Regions from separate parts of the Homo sapiens genome. Here region 1 is linked to region 2. The links are contacts of gene promoters, found by promoter capture Hi-C in human tissues and cell types (Jung and others, 2019). All regions are on one chromosome and are shown on one strand. The core of a region is centred on a gene start or on the middle of the fragment in contact, and the rest is flanking DNA. Distances in the headings are between cores, read along the strand shown. Region 1 overlaps ZBED6 (zinc finger BED-type containing 6). Region 2 holds the start of LAX1 (lymphocyte transmembrane adaptor 1).

Region 1 (3,108 bases), core at 396-2,895, 34 kb before region 2:
TTAAGCATCAGGGTTTTTAAGGAAACAGAAAAACAGGGGCAGGAGGAATGCCAGCCAGTGTACTTTTTTCTCATTTCGTTGATTTCAGAGCAATAAAATTTCCCATGGTGGGGGAAGTTTTACTTAAAACCAATTACTAGTTCAATCTACCAGGAAGAAAGCCTAAGGCCTTTCAATGCTGCACTATATTTTTTTTAATTAAAAATATCTTCTCTCTCATTGGTATAAGCAAAATTTTCAAGTGCTAGCGCCACAGTTATAGCTATGAAATCTTTAATCTTCATTTTATCAAAATTATATTGCCTCTGAGGAATTTTCAGCCCTTGTGTGATTTCAGGTTTCCCCAGATGTGTTTATAAAGATAATGATTATATTTAACAACTACAGCTATTAAGATACAGTAACACAGCAAAAAGTTGCCCATTTTAAATGGAGAAAAAGAAATTAAGGCAGTATTTCTTTTTCACTGCTTTGAACAACTTCATTCTGCTCAGGATCCCAGCTCAGAACCAACGTAGAATAATCGTAGTTAACATTTTTCAAGTTCATTTTCAGAAACATCAGTTGTTCTATATTGTCAAAGTCCAGGCTCATGATCTGTTTTGGATGAAAGTGGCTATTTTTAGTAAAGATACATTCAGATTGCCAACTACACATGGGGCAACTTAGATACTGGATGGCAACCTGGGTCAAAGCCGGCCATATGCTTATCTTCCTCTGCCAGTAAATTAAAGGGTCATCACCTCCTGAGAACTCTGAATACTTCTCTTTGAAGTACTCATCCACAACTGCTACAGCAGAAGGGAACATGAAGCTTTTGCTTCCAAGGGCAACATTGTCTACAGCTGAGCTATCAACAGAACCTGAACTGGAGGTGCCTTCTTTTAGAGATGAGGTAAATGAATCAGCTCCCACTGTAACTGAGGGACAAGAAGCTTCTGAAGTTGGAATTTGGCAGATCTCTGGTGAAGATTCCATATAATTACAGACCTCTTCTGCAAGGAACTGCTTATAAGTTTCTAAATCAGCACCTTGAGGAAAAAAGTCTTCCAAACTGTTTTTAAAGCAAGGATCTAACAAAGTAGCCAAGATACAGGGCTTGGATTTAAGCATGGCACTTAGTAGGGTATCTGTTTCAAGTTTCAGAGATAAACTATCCACCAGATTGAGGGCCTGAGTAATACCTCTGACTTGAAAATCTTCTCTGAGTTTCTGCAGGGAAAGGAGTAGATGATGGATTAGGGGTAGCACCTGATTCAATCCTGCGGTCTTCACGCTCACTTTCTGGGTAGCCTCCTCAAATGGCTTAAGAATATCACAAACATAAGTCATTAGAGTCCACTGAAGGGAGGTGAGCACAACTCCACTGGCTCTACCAAGACTATGGTGAACTGAGTAGCAATGCTCCAAGAGCCATTTTAACATATAAAAAGTAGAAATCCAATGGCCAGTTTCGTCCTGCTTCAAATTCTTCCATGGAAGTTGGTGATCATTTTGGAACTCTTGCAGTATCTGACGGGCCTTGACCGAATGACTAAAATGATGACAAGTTTTCCTGGCAGCCACTAACATATTCTCAATGCTTTTGTGCTCGCAGAAAAAGTCCTGAATGACCATATTTAAACAATGCAGGAAGCATGGCACATGGGTAAAACCACCATCTTTGATTGCATGTACCACATTAGAGGAATTGTCAGAAACAATGAAGCTAGGGATAAGGAAATTTGGAGAAAGCCACAGACCAATCTGGTCATTTAATTCTTGTAAAATATTGGTTATCAAACAGTCTTTAGCCAAACCTGTAACACAAAGCACTGCCCACTTTCTAAAATCGGGGATCCTGCCATTATTGAGAAAAGACGCAGTTTCCAAAGAAACCCAGTGTACAGTCACAATAAAATAGTCAGTGGATGGGTCATGGGTCCATATGTCAACAGTCAGGTGTATCTTTTGGCTTTGAACATTCTCTAAAGTTAAGAAAATTTTTTCTCTGACACAATCATATAACTGAGGTACAGCCTTAGTGAAAAAGTAAGTCTCTGATGGCAACCTATAATCAGGGGCCACAATCTGCATGAACCTCTGAAAGGCTGGGGTTGAGAAATAGTTGTAAGGATGCATATCCTCCACAATCATTTGGATAATTGCCTGACTTATGTGACTTGAGACTGGATTTCCACAACATGTTGTTTCTCTCTCCTGCGCACGCATCAGAGTGCCTTGCTCTGCAACGGGAATAGGACTTTCAGATCTGTTTTCAACCTCTAACATAGGTTCATCTGAATCAGAGTCACTAAGGTCCTCAGCTGTTAAATCTTGGCTGCCTGTAGACTTTTCTCCATGCAAGGTATCACTCAAGAGATCACTTCTCTCAGTCTCAGCTTCATCTAATCCATTTGCAACAGCACCACTGTCTTTGTTGGCAACAGCCCAATGGATAGGATGTGTGGCTTGCAGGTGTCGTTGAAGTGTTGAAGTCCCTAAGTGGGACCCTGGCCTACCCCGGCTCACACTTCTTTTACATATATTACACACAGCTCTTGAGATGTGCTGAGGATCAGTGTAAAAAAAATTCCAAACGGCAGATGTCTTGGCTCTAGTTCCAGGAATTAAAGCATGCTTGACAATGTTACTTTTGATGAGAAATCTCCCTCTTTCTGCCCTTAGGGCATCAGATGCTGATTTATCATGCTTCTTGCCCATTCTATTATCATCTAATGGATCAGTAGGAATATATTCAAAGCTTCCATTGCTTCCAGAAGAGGGAGATAAAGACACATCCAAGGTAAAGTCCTCCTCTCCACTAGCAACTCCAAACTTGTTGGCCCTGGTCCAATGAGGTGAATGCCTTGCTTGCAGATGTCGTTGAAGAGTAGATGTACCAAGATGGCTACCTGGTTTACCCCTGCTGACGCTTTTCTCACAGAGGTTACAAATGGCCCGCCAGGTGTACTGGGGGTCAACATGAAAGAAGTGCCACACAATGGAGGTCTTGGCTCTAGTACTAGGTAGATAGATCTGTTTTTCTATATTGCTCTCAAAAAGACTTTCTTCATCCTGCTCAGGGTCATTGGAAGCTAACAAAGCAGGGGCATCTGCAACAGGCCT
Region 2 (2,939 bases), core at 177-2,676:
TAGTTTTGGAGAGATGCTTCAGGCTTCTGATTCATTGCTCATTGATGCTCATATCTACCAGCAAGTGACATGTGTTTGCCATGATAATAACATTTATTTCCCCAAACGACTGCAATTTTATTTTATTTTTTGAGACAGAGTTTCGCTTTTGTTGCCCAGGCTGGAGTACAATGACATGACACTGCAACCTCTGTTTCCCGGGTTCAAGTGATTCTCCTGCCTCAGCCTCCTGAGTAGCTGGGACTACAGGAGCATGCTACCACTCCCGGCTAATTTTTGTATTTTTAGTAGAAACGGGGTTTCACCATGTTGGCCAGGCTGGTCTTGGCCAGGCTGGTTCAAGAGTGGGGGTGATCCGCCCCACTCGGCCTCCCAAAGTGCTGGGGTTACAGGTGTGAGCCACCGCGCCCAGTCAGCTGCCAATGTTTTTAAAGTTTCAACTGTGGATGGATTTTTAATTTTGTTTGTATGAGATTGAAAGTAGTAGCAGTAATTCATACCCATGATTAGTTCTGTAAGATTTTACGTCCTAAGGACGTATCTTTATTACATCTATCACTACATTTTTTATTCATGACAAGTTTTTGGATCTCAAAACACATCCTTGGAAAACTCAGCCTTTTGTTTCTGTCATGGTGACACCTAGGAAAGACTGATGATAGGGTTCAGGGCCTCCGAGAGGTGAGAAATCCAACCAGTCTAAGCAACTAGCTTTAAGGGCCAGTGTTATCACAGTTTTTCCTCTACCACAATATTTTCTTTCTTTCCTCAATACCTTCCTTTCCCCCTAGCACCCCTGAGCAAATGCCTCCAAGCCTAGAGTTTGGTGGTTTAGTAGACCGAGCCTGGGTGTTGAGAGGTGGCAGCACTGCTGTGTAAGAAGCTCCTAAGGGTGGACTAGGACCTTCTGCCTAAATCAGGGCAGGGTGGAGCTCACCACCCTGAGTCACTCACCTGTCCAGGCTGCGGGGAGTCACATGCAGAGTGCTGGACTCCAAGGTCCTCCCTCTGATTGTCGAAAGGGTTGGAGTGACACCATCCATTGTATCAGGAACCTTTGAGATGCTCTCTGGCTTCAGCTTCTAAGTTTCTCTTAATCATAATCAGTTAGCCAGCATGTCTACCACTTCTCCCCACCCCCGCAACAAACTCCCTATCTCGTGTCTACCTCTGAAACGTCAGGCCAAGTTGACCCAACATACAAAAGCAACAGGTTTGGTTCTACCTGGACGTGGCTAATGCCCACTGCAGGAAGTGCGATCTCATCCGGACATGGTGCTTCCAAGTGAGGTGGCTCAGGGAGAATCTGTGGCCTCTGCCTTCACGTTTCTGGTGGAAACGTGAGGGGCACAGAGGGGGAAACTGCCAAGAGGCTCAAGAGAGGCTCCGTGAGAAGCTCGTCTTCCTTCAACACCCAAAGCAGAGTGAAAAGAGCAAACCACTTTGCCAGAATGGAAACAGAGAGTCAGTCACCGGAAACGACACCACCAATGTGCTAATGAAGCACAGGGCACAGGAAACTCTGCTCAGCTCTTAATCTGCTAGAAGAAAACATATCTTCAACCCACCGTTCCTGGGTTTGCCAGGTGCTCTGTGGTCTGTGATGAGTGTGATTAAAAATGGGGCAGGGTAGTAGAGAACTTGTGATTCTTCACCCTGAGTTTCTGAGACACTTAGAGTTGTATAAGTCTTCAGATTTACAGTATTTTCTAAGCAAGTCTAAGGAGCACTGGAGGTTGCCTTTTAGAGTGAAATGCAGATCTCCGGGACCCTCTTCTGATTCAGTGGGTGGAGGCTGCAGAGGGGGCAGGCTTTGGCTATCGATGCTTTCCAGGTGAATTTGATGGAGCTTTCAGGTGATTTTGATGGAGCTCATCTGTGTTTCATGTTTTGGGAACCTCTGCTCTGGGTACTACCTTAAGAATAGAAGTTATGCTGGGTTAGCAGGACCCCTGCTCCCCCAAGGCAACCTTCCACAGCTCCTGGCTGCTGGTGATCTCCTGTTCTCAGGGCTCTTCTGAAGATCAGTCACAGTCTTACTTGTCACACACCTGTCTCAGAAGCTGAACAAGTTCATCCTTAAGAGCTACCCAAAGTGTTTGAAGATTGTTCAAAATTTATTGCTAACTCCCCTCCCTTCTTGAGCCTACTAATCTCCGGAAACACTCTTTGCATCTTGGGAGAGTCCAAAGAGAAGGGGCCACTAAGACTGTTGTAAGGATGTGAAGAACCTCTCTGATTGCACTTTCCACAAGGAAATGGATTCCCAGATGAATGGAAGGGCAGACCAGCAGTACCCTCCTAGAACCATGCCTCCCTCCCATCTCTTCCCAGTGGACATTGAGGTCCTCAGCTTTCCTGAGGTGGCAGCCCCTGGCCTGTCTGCATCCAGACTCTCACAGAGTCCCCAGGGGCTGCAGACTGGCCATGGCTGGCTTTCCAGGGAGCTTTATCATTCCAGGTCCTGGGCCCCTTCCCTCCCAGGAGCTTCACCTGGTAGGAAGCAGAAATGGCTCAGAGGCAGCTGGTGCTGGAGCTGGAACCTGGGTCTCTGCCCACTTCTCCTTTGGATCAGGTCTGAGTAGGAACTAGGACTACTCACAAGATCCATCATGCTGGTGGCAAGGACTGGGGTCCTGGGCCATTGGAACCAATAAGGGACTGTGAGAATCAGGACCTCGGAAGGCAGTACACGGAAAGGGCACATGGAACCAAACCTCAGAACCATGACTGCTAATTAAAAAAAAAAAATTTTTTTTTTTTTTAAAGAACTTTTCCATTGCATGTGATCATTTCAGGGCCTCACTTATCTTATCTACCCAATCTGCTGCAGTTAGACCAATCTTCCCTCTGGTTGTCCAATTCTCTCCTGCCCCCACATCTCAGGGAAATCACCACCTCAGAGGCAGCTGCCCAAGTTACCTGCCTCAGACTGCAGG

Evidence for each region. The method cuts DNA at HindIII sites, captures the fragments that hold promoters and counts their contacts. A contact is called where the count stands out against the background at its distance.
Region 1: a fragment that was not itself captured here is called in contact with the fragment with the promoter of LAX1 in region 2 in 1 of the 25 tissues and cell types used here (psoas muscle).

What each region holds. Positions count from the first base shown.
Region 1 is chr1:203,797,799-203,800,906 of GRCh38, reverse strand. It overlaps ZBED6 (zinc finger BED-type containing 6), which reads right to left. Exons shown (of 17, transcript NM_001395895.1): 1 at 1-3,108. The coding sequence ends at 445. The region is part of intron 1 of ZC3H11A (zinc finger CCCH-type containing 11A); the gene reads right to left. Among named protein-coding and RNA genes, the nearest start is that of ZC3H11A, 3.7 kb to the right of the region's middle. The HindIII fragment of the contact is 3,631 bases long and covers 1-3,108 here.
Region 2 is chr1:203,763,670-203,766,608 of GRCh38, reverse strand. LAX1 (lymphocyte transmembrane adaptor 1) reads right to left here and starts at 1,426. Exons shown (of 5, transcript NM_017773.4): 1 at 955-1,426. The coding sequence starts at 1,043. RefSeq lists an enhancer at 1,184-1,543. The HindIII fragment of the contact is 24,847 bases long and covers 1-2,939 here.